Regions from separate parts of the Homo sapiens genome. Here region 2 is linked to region 1. The links are contacts of gene promoters, found by promoter capture Hi-C in human tissues and cell types (Jung and others, 2019). All regions are on one chromosome and are shown on one strand. The core of a region is centred on a gene start or on the middle of the fragment in contact, and the rest is flanking DNA. Distances in the headings are between cores, read along the strand shown. Region 1 holds the start of SLC44A1 (solute carrier family 44 member 1). Region 2 overlaps SLC44A1 (solute carrier family 44 member 1).

Region 1 (5,100 bases), core at 596-3,095:
AAAACAAGATGTACTTTTCTGGCTTTGAGGGAAAATCTCAAGGGAATGTTTTTTATTCTTGGCTGCACTGAATAATTCAACAAACATTTGAGAGAGCTGAGGGAGATACAAAGGAGAAAATACTTTTCCTTGTTCTCAGGGAGTTTACAATCTAATTCTGGAGTTTACAACCAGAATTGGGACTAGAACCATTAGTTTTATGTCTTCACTTGTATTTATTGGTTTAATGGTTATGGGAAACACATGTAGGATTCGCCAGCTCCGTGGTATGGTGGACCCTCTGATTAACCTGAAAGGAAACTAGAAAGAATGCAGAAGAATTCAAGATCTCAATCAGTTGAGTACTTGCTGACCTAGCAGCACTTTCTTATGTTATTTAATCTTGACCACAAGCCTTTGCAGTCATCCCTGCTACCAGCATTTCACAGAAGCGGACAATGAGATTTGGAGAGATAACTCGTCCACAGTCACGAACTCAGGAAATGGCATAGGAAAACATCAATTAGGAATTCTTCTTCCCTGGCCCTTTCTGTAGCTGTCCCCTTACAGGCTACCATTCCAACTTTCCTTGGCTTAGATTCCCTTTCAGTGCATGTAAAGTCAATTTAATTCTGTGTTCTTTTCTTCCCTCTATACTTTAACTAATCTTTAAAACTTGATGTCTCATATTTGGTGAATCAGTCCTTTTGGAAGTCTCACTCCCTTGCAGCTTTGCAAATAAAGTTTTTCTTTTCTTTCCTGTGGCTGTCTTTTGAGACATTCTTTGACAAGATGAAATGACATATGAAGGCTATAACAGTGCCTGATAATGTGGGGTTTTTTTTAACATCATTATCTTTAGTTTTATTTCTTTCACTTTTTAACTGTTTTCACCTCATACTGTATTTCCTAACGACTCGTTTGGAATTGTAAATTTCTTGAAGGTAGTTACCACGTCTACTCTAACTTGTTGCTACTTCCTTGAGTCTTACTGATTTAGCAACAGGAACTTGGTAAGTCTCTTTTGCTCGCCTCTTTATTCCCAGTACTAGTCACTGGAACGTAGTGTGTCTTCAGTAAGTATTTTTAATATGAATAAATTAATGTCCCCTTATTGTTTTTTGTAGACTATCCTGTATAAGAAAGTTTAGCTTAGATCCAGTATGGCTTTGACTTGCGAGCCTGGATAACTTTTTGCCTTTTCCTCATTTCTGGCTATTTATTACCATTTCAACCTTGGGAACATTTCATTAGGTTCTTGGTCCCTTTCAAGCCTCAGTTTCCACATCAGCAAAATGGGGACAGTAGCAACAGATGCTTGTTTCTTCCCGTCTTCTTATCACCTATTCCTTCTCCAGGAAAGGTTTCTTGTGTACGCTTTCCTCTGGAGAAAAAAAACAGCCGACGGGGCGGTAAGAAGCCATCAGGATCCTGAGTTGTGCGTCCAGTAGGGAGAGGGAGAAGTCCCGCTTGCCTCCTAGATCCGGAAGCAATCCGGCCCCTTTTTGGCAGCGAGTTGGCCCGGTCTTTGGCTGCCTCAGACCGCGTTGCCCTCCAGCCTCGAGGCAGAGAGCTGCCTCGGTGCCACAGCTAAATAAGCCCGGCGCCGCGCAGCCTCTGACACGCGCGGAAGGGCCCGGCCTTGTTCTGGCTGCCGCCGCCCTGCCACCAGCACGGCGCTGCACTGGGGGCGGGGAGTCTGATGGGAGACGCGCGCGGCGCTGAGGAGGCGGCGGCCCGGGAGAGGGAGCGGGAGAGGGACTGGGCGCGGGAGGCGGGAGGCGGGGGGACAGAGGGAGGCGCCGCCGCCGCCGCCGCCCGCCCCTTTCCGCTGGGGAGCAGCTGCTGCAGCAGGAGCAGAGCAGGAGACGCGTAGCCGCCGTCGCCGCCGCCGGGGGATGTGGCCGGCGCCTGCCTCTAGCCGCGCCGCCTCTTGAGTACCAGCCGCCGCTGCAGCCGCCGCCGCCGCCTAGCCGTGCGGTGCCAGGCCGCGCCCTCCCCGGGCGCCCGCCGGCTCGCATGCCGAGGGGCTCCGGGGCGTAGCTGCGCGCCCGGCGCCGCCTCCGGGCTCCTTCGGCCCCGCCATGGGCTGCTGCAGCTCCGCCTCCTCCGCCGCGCAGGTGAGGGGCTCCCGCCTCCCGGCCGCCCGCCCGGATGCCTCCCGTGCGCCGCGTCGCGCGGCGGGCGCCCGCCGCCCGATACCTCTCGCTGTCCCCAGCCTCCCCTGAGCGCACCGTGCAGTCCAAAGACCCCCACTCCGCCTTTCCGTCCGCCGGGTCCCGCCGATGCCCGTGCGCTGGCTCCGCGGCTGCCGACTCAAAGGCGCCTCTGCGCGGCGCCTAGTGCGCCCTCAGCTCTTCCCGGCCCCTTCCCCAGTCGGCCCCCTCCTCCCAGTCACACCTGAGCTGCCCGTCCCGCCCGCCTGCAGGTAGAGGCTGCACTGGCGCCTCCTCTGCCCCAGGTGGCATCCCCTTCCCTGTTCTTCCGGGCCTGGCTCCTCTCTTCCACCTCCGTGGAGTCTCCCCGCCATCCGCCGCCCGTTTTCTGTGCTCCTCGCAGGTGTACCCCCAGCAAGAGCTCTTCACCTCTCCCACCGAATTCCAGTTTCTGCTTCATTAGATATTCTGTCCCTTTTCTCTTGCCCGCTGCCCCCTGGCTGGGTTCAGATGGTTTCAGCGGGTCCCGGAGCCCTTCCACGGCCCGCTCCGCAGACCTCGCTTGCTCGCTTGCACCCCATCCCCCCTTAGTGCCGTGACCCGGGCCCCGCGGCCTCCCCGCACTCGGAGGCCCCTGCGGGAGCGCCGACTCTGGGCTGGGAAGGAGATTGGGCACCTGGTGGGTGACGGGAGCGCTACGGAAACTCCCTCTTTGTTGCCAGTGTAACAGGAGGAAGAGGTTCCGAATTTAGTTTTTCTGTGGGCACTGGCTGAATGTTGTCGCTGAGGGCTGAGATGCAGAGATTTCTCTCAGCTTCTACCCTGCCCCCATCCAAATTTCGCCAACCTCCTTCTCTCGGATCCGAGCCCTTAACCTGGGTGGAAATGTTTAGACAACTGTACGAGGATCAAATGTAATAGAACTCGACTACTGGCCACTAATAACTGAGAGGACCTGTTTGTAAATTACCTAATTTAGTGGATTAGCGAGTGTATTTACAAATACTATAAAAAGCAATCAGGAATACTGCATCAAACTGTCTTGTGGTGGTGTATGAAAAATAGGCTCTGACAACGCCTGGGATGTAATCTCACAGTTTCATTAGCGTAGTTTCATTAACTGTGGTCTGTGATTTGTTTGTTTTAGGGGGCAGAAAAGGGCTCTTGTTTTTAGAAATAAAGGATGGTTGGTTCTTGGTGAAGAAAAACGCTAGTTTGGGGGGAAAAAATTCCTCCAGAAAGCTAGCATCTGTGATAATGCCAGAAGTGTTTTTGCTGCTGCTAAATGACTATATATAACTCAGTTTTAAATAACCTGCATACTTGTTCTGAAAATCTGAGATCTGTTAGAGAGAAAATGACTAGAATTGCAGATGAATGGGGGACATTTGTGTTTTATTAGGTATCCATCCTATCATCCTATTCCTCCAGTCTTTTTTTTTTTTTTTTGAGTGTTTGCTTACCCGTTAGCTTTTTTTTTTCCTGCTAGCATTATAGTCAGGCTTTTTGGTGTAGTTAAAGATTCCTATTCAGTTATAATAGCAAAGTAAAACTATACGTAGAGGTGTTAGGAAGGAGAGGCTTGGTATATCAGAGTTTTCATATTAACATATAAAGGTGTAGAATTGCACATAACTTTCAACTGGTTAGGAATTTGTGGGGGTCTAGTTGGGTGCTCTTTAATATTTACTTAAGTATAATTTTCACCAAAAAGGTGTTTTTCAGATTGCCTTTCTTTTCAGAATTGAGTTAATTTACATTCCCTTTTGGTGGTGAAATGCCTTTAAGACAGAAAAGTATTGATAGTTTATGGATAGCTTGTTCAGTGCATGAACAGTTAAATTTGGGAGGGATGGGTGCTGCATCAGAACTCTGCTTTAAAACCGATAGTGGGTCTTGCATTTGTCTAGCTCCACGTCATACTTTTCAGAATGCTATCGTATACGTTTTCTTTTCTTTTACCTCCTCTCACTGTAGAACATGCCTTGTTCCACAGATAAGATGCATGTCATGCACCCAAGGGGTGCATTTTTTTCCTGTGGATTCCTATAACCAATCAACAGCTGTCACATGCTTTTAAGTTCAGCTTTAGGGACTTGTAGTGTTCAGTGGAGCATTGAGGAGCAGGTTTTGTGCCAAAGAGCTGGTGATTTTTTTTTTTTTTTCTTATTTGAGATTTTTGGCATCCTTCTTCATTTGTGAAATGTTACTAATCGGCTGGTATTTTAACTCTCCTTTCAGGAGCATTACCAGTTTTAGAATACTGTTGTTCCTATATGTGTTTTTAAACAAAATAGGGTTGCAACTCCACATCTTCTCCAGCCTCTCTTAGGGGTCTCAAAAGTATTTTCTTCTTTTTTTTGTTTTTCTTCAGACGGGGTTTCGCTTTTGTTGCCCAGGCTGCTGGAGTGCAGTGGTGCGATCTCAGCTCACTGCAACCTCCGCCTCCTGGGTTCGAGCGATTTTCCTGCCTCAGCTTCCCAAGTAGCTGGGATTATAGGTATGCACCAGCTCATCTGGCTAATTTTGTATTTTTGGTAGAGACAGGGTTTTGCCATGTTGGTCAGGCTGGTCTCGAACTCCTGACCTCGGGTGATCTACCCACCTCGGCCTCCCAAAGTGCTGGTATTACAGACATGAGCCACCGCTCCCTATCAGGGGTCTCAAATGTATTTTCACTCAGAATATGTTTGTTTCATGCCTTCTACTGGATTGTAAGCTTCTTGAGCACAGGAACTGTTTTTGTTTTCCTTATTTGTGTATCTACTGCAGTGCCTCACTGTACCTTGTACTTAATAGTTGCTCAGCAGTAGTCACTGGAGGGAATATGTAGACATATATTTGAACCTCTGGCTGGCAAGTGGCATCGAATGTGAATCTAGACCTGACCCATCTACTGTTTGTAAATTCTATGGGCTGGTTGATTAATTTTGCCAAGCTGTCCTCTTCTAAACTCAAACCTGGA
Region 2 (4,943 bases), core at 1,854-4,353, 120 kb after region 1:
TATTTTTGTCCCTTTATGAAATACCACACAGATCAGAAGGTTTGTGGCTTGGGGTAGGGACCTATTGCCTTCTACTTAACTGCCGTATTTCTGGATTTGTACTTTATGTGCTTCTTCTTTCCTTCCTTGATATTTTCCTAGGCAGTCCTGTTCAGAATGAGCAAGGCTTTGTGGAGTTCAAAATTTCTGGGCCTCTGCAGTACATGTGGTGGTACCATGTGGTGGGCCTGATTTGGATCAGTGAATTTATTCTAGCATGTCAGCAGATGACAGTGGCAGGAGCTGTGGTAACATACTATTTTACTAGGTAAGAATATGTTGTTATTAGAAAACTCGAGTTCATCTAAGGGATGGTGTCCGCAGGCTGGAGGGGAAGGGAATCAGACTGGGGCTGGCAGGAGTTTCATTTCTTTAACAAAAGAATTAGAAATGAATATGACAGAGTGTTATATATAGTTGATAATTCTGGGAGGTGGTCAAATGAGAGATTGTTGTTTTATTCTTTATACTTTTCTGCAGTTGTCTCATAAAATTTATTGCGATGTCACAAATTGTATTTAGCAGAAGAATAAATCTTATAGTGGTGCCATATGTACTTTTGCTTTATATAAAAGTCCATCAAAGGACAACAAGTCTTTTTAGTTTGTTTAGACCGGAACAAGTGTGAGTTCCCTTTGCTAACTTTAGAGCCAAATATGAAAGCTTTAGGTCTCATAATTTTCTATTATAATTAGATGCCAAGTCTAAATTTAACATCTTTTTAAATTCTGTTTTCTGATGACCCCATAAGTATTCACTAATAAAAGCTTTCAGAGCACAGTTTTATTTAACTTGAAGTATTAGAGCATCAGAACCCCATGAAACTACCATAGAGCAATGACATTAATTTTATATAGCATGTCTGTAGCATTTGTAATAGTTATATATCACTTGGCCATTTTGTCATAAAGCTAAAATAAGAATGATGAGCTGATTTTTTTTTTCACTGCGTTGGACTCTAAACCATACCTGTGTTTCCATCCTGATCTAGGCTTTGTTTTAATTGTCTTTTTGGTCATTTTTTAAATAGGGATAAAAGGAATTTGCCATTTACACCTATTTTGGCATCAGTAAATCGCCTTATTCGTTACCACCTAGGTACGGTGGCAAAAGGATCTTTCATTATCACATTAGTCAAAATTCCGCGAATGATCCTTATGTATATTCACAGTCAGCTCAAAGGAAAGGTAAGGGGAAAATGCATTTCTGTACTTTCTGTGGGCACATTCCAGACCTCAGTTCTGCATGTAGTAAAGCACCCAATAATGTTAAATACAAAGTTGTGTTTTCTTCAAAGTCTTTACAAGGCAAAATCCAGCCCTTCTCCCTTGTCTCCCACTCATGCACTCCATATGCTCTGGCAAAATTCATCCAGTCACTAGTAACTAAAAGTATCCTGTGCTGCTCTTCCTCTCTGTTGACTCACATACCTTCCTCCTTAGAACTTCTTCCCTTCCTTGACTGTGGGAATAACATGCACTTCAACTAGTTTAGCTCAAATTCTACTCCTTTGTAGAAACCTTTCCTGATTCCTCCCATCTCCCAAACAATGCTGTCTCTTTGTTCTCCACTCTCATAACACTTAGTATCTATACTATATTCTGATTCTAACCTTTTTTGTGTTTGGTATTTTTTTTCTCCTACTAGATTGTAAGTTCCTTGCAGGTGTTATAAACTTCACTGTATATGCAGTAGAGACTAAATAAATATTTAATTGAACTTATTAAAAATAATTCAGTCATTATGTTTTAAGGAGAAAGTGGACAAGTATGGAGGCTTTGAAGCATAAATTGTGATTTTTAAATTTTTATTTATTTTTCTAACGTTTGAAGTCTTCTATGTGACAGTTTGATTCTTTGGTTTTTTTATTATTTCCATTTTTCCCCCATCCAGGAAAATGCTTGTGCACGATGTGTGCTGAAATCTTGCATTTGTTGCCTTTGGTGTCTTGAAAAGTGCCTAAATTATTTAAATCAGGTAAAATATTTTAAAAATAAATCTAATATTTACTTTCAAAGATAGGTTCATTGTTTCTTCTCCCAAGATAAACTTAATTGAAAGATGTTATGTTTTTCTTGTGGTATTGTACATTGTGCCTTGATAAAGTATGTCTATTTCAATCATATTCTTATTTTTTAAATTAATGTATATGCTTACCAAGGCTCATTATTATTTTAATTTTTTCCAACTTTTAGGTTTAGGGAGTACATGTACAGATTTGTTACATATGTTATTATTTTTATTTTAATAAATAGATAAAACATCACTCTGGTTCGTCTTTCAGGAAAAACATTTATCTCTCATCCCTTAATTCACATTCCTTCATTTTTTAAGTTTTTCCTAAGAATCTGACTACTGTGGCTATGATTACCCTTTCATTTTTAAAAATGTTGTTTGAAAACTTCAGTGTAAAGCTGTTGTGACACTTTATCCCTCTTTGCAACTAGCTACTATCATTCGAACTAGTGTGCTCTCTATGCTGATACTTTTTTTTTTTTTGACCCAACTGCTAAACACTATGATATTGGCCTGGGAAATATTATCAAAGGAAGTACTACTTAATAAGGTTGAATGGAAGAATTGATATTTATAGGATAAAAGGGCCTAGGTGAATGGGTTAGTCCTCTATCTTTCTATATCTGAGGATCTGGGAGTCTCTGTGGGGCACTCCTTCCTTCTTTTCTTTATTTTTTTAAGTTACTTTTCCATTCCCTAAAAATCAATTCTAATGTATTAATGCCCTCATCTAATAGGCCAGAGATAAAATTGACTTTCTCACCATTTACTGCTAAGTGATTGAAGAGTAGCATTGCACTTTCCATTCACTCCAAGATAGTCACAGGTTGATAGTTCTATGCCCATGGTATTGAGCATGCCTGGACTTTGCTTTATTGGGTTCTATGGTTAATATGAGAAAGTAGGTATGATGTTTCATTAGCAAAATACATTCTTATAGGTCATAATATTCCCTATGGATGTACAAGTGTTTGGAAGCTCATTCTTAAAATAATTTGTAAGGCCATAACAACCTGAAAAATTGTGTTCTTTAAAATTGGTTTGAGGCCAAGTCATCTTTATCAGAAAGGTAATGGATACACTAAAGATGATCATAATTGCATTTTTATACCCATCACTAAATAGCTTATCCTCGGAGAGATGTGCTAAGCCCAGATCTCTAGTCTCAATCCTACTGCCGTACCCCCAGGCACCTTTTGCTTTTGCAGTTTTCCAAATGTGCCTGGAATCTGACTAGTTCCTACTGAACCTTAATGATTCTGCCTGAGCGTCACCTCCAAGAAGCCATCCCTCTTCACCCCAGCCCCTCTGCTGAGCTTCTAACTCAGCAGAGTTAGAAGCTGAGGTCATACCTTAGTATTCAAATACTAACAACACTATATCGAAGTTATCTGTTAACTTTACCTTTAAACTTCTAGCTCCTTTAAAGTTCTTCTTTTTCTTGGTCTCCTCAGAAGCTAGCACAGTGCCCAGTATACAATAGGTGGTCCTTAAGTGTTTTCTGAATGAACTGTTAATTATATTAGTGAATATTTAGACTCAAAAAGACTAACAGGGTGATACAAAACTATAAAAATCCTGAAAAGGAGATGTGCAGTTATACTGAAGGAAGAAAACAAGTCATATGATATCAAGATAGTCGATAAAAGGTTAACAAATGGAAGGTTTTCAGCATATCCCAAGCTAAACATTAGTCAGTGATTTAGTACCAACAACCCTGAGATGTTGGTCTTTTTTTTTTTTTACAGATTTTGTCCATTTTGGATCAGCATTTCGTAGGCACGATGTTTGAAGTTTTAAGTGGAACATTAAAATAGTAGTAAATCAAACATGTGAGGAAAGGCTTAGGGAGAGGTGTTCTGAACTCATACTTTGTAGTTCTATTTGGGAATACAAAGTGCTACAATGTGGGGACTGATCACCTGCAGAGCTTCATGTCTCCTGGGCTCATAGGAAATGCCACACTTGAAATGTGGTCAACACAACTCTGTAAGGCTAGCATTATTTTCTCATCTGTTTCATAGATGAGAAAATTGAGACTGGCATCTTGTGGCAAATCACGAGACCTAAAGGTGGAAGAAGTTTTCAAATCATTTTGCCTTGCTCTTTCCAGTATATCACACTGCTGCCATTATATCACACTTATATACATATAAATATATATACATTTCTGAGTGGTGTAAGCAAACAAAAATATGGTTTATTATAGAAAATACGCACACATCTCAAATTGTAATGATTCATTCTGTAAACTACGACAATTATGTTTTTAAAGAAAATCTATTGAGGTCAGGCACGGTGGCTCACGCCTGTAATCCCAACACTTTTGGAGGCCGAGGCAGGTGGATCATTTGAGGTCAGGAGTTCGAGACCATCTTGGCCAACATGGTGAAACCCCATCTCTACTAAAAATACAAAAATTAGCCAGGTGTGCTGGCTCGTGCCTGTAGTCCCAGCTACTCCGGAGGCCGAGGCAGGAGAATCGCTTGAACCTGGGAGGTGGAGGTTGTAGTGAGCCGAGATTGAGCCATTGCATTCCAGCCTGGGCAACAGAGTGAGACTCTTTCAAGAAAAAAGAAAGAAAGCCTGTTGAAATTAAGATTTGCAACACACTTGTAATTTTTATGACCTTGAAAAAGTCTAAGAATTTAGAACAAAATTAGATAAAGCCTACAGTATGGGTTTGACTTTGTGCCCTGTCTTAATCTGTTCAGGCTTCTATAACAAAATACCATACACTAGGTGGCTTCTAAACAACAGAAATTTATTTTTCATAGTTATGTAGTTGATGAGAACTATTCCAATAGTTCTAGAGGCTGGGAAATCCAAGAACAAGGCACCAGCAAATTCAGTGGTTTGTGCGGGCCTGTTTCCTGGTTCAGAGATGG

The links. Contacts are between HindIII fragments. The study calls those that stand out against the background at their distance.
Region 2: a contact is called between a fragment that was not itself captured here and the fragment with the promoter of SLC44A1 in region 1, in 3 of the 25 tissues and cell types used here (dorsolateral prefrontal cortex, hippocampus and mesenchymal stem cells).

The regions. Positions count from the first base shown.
Region 1 is chr9:105,242,806-105,247,905 of GRCh38, forward strand. SLC44A1 (solute carrier family 44 member 1) reads left to right here and starts at 1,846. Exons shown (of 16, transcript NM_080546.5): 1 at 1,846-2,099. The coding sequence starts at 2,064. It overlaps LOC112268038 (a long non-coding RNA gene), which reads right to left and starts at 2,788. Exons shown (of 3, transcript XR_002956866.2): 1 at 2,214-2,788. RefSeq lists enhancers at 1,488-2,392, 2,393-3,296 and silencers at 1,619-2,218, 2,229-2,368, 2,709-2,788. The HindIII fragment of the contact is 14,998 bases long and covers 1-5,100 here.
Region 2 is chr9:105,364,414-105,369,356 of GRCh38, forward strand. SLC44A1 (solute carrier family 44 member 1) reads left to right here. Exons shown (of 16, transcript NM_080546.5): 10 at 142-307; 11 at 1,070-1,226; 12 at 1,933-2,016. Among named protein-coding and RNA genes, the nearest start is that of FSD1L, 81 kb to the right of the region's middle. The HindIII fragment of the contact is 5,581 bases long and covers 314-4,943 here.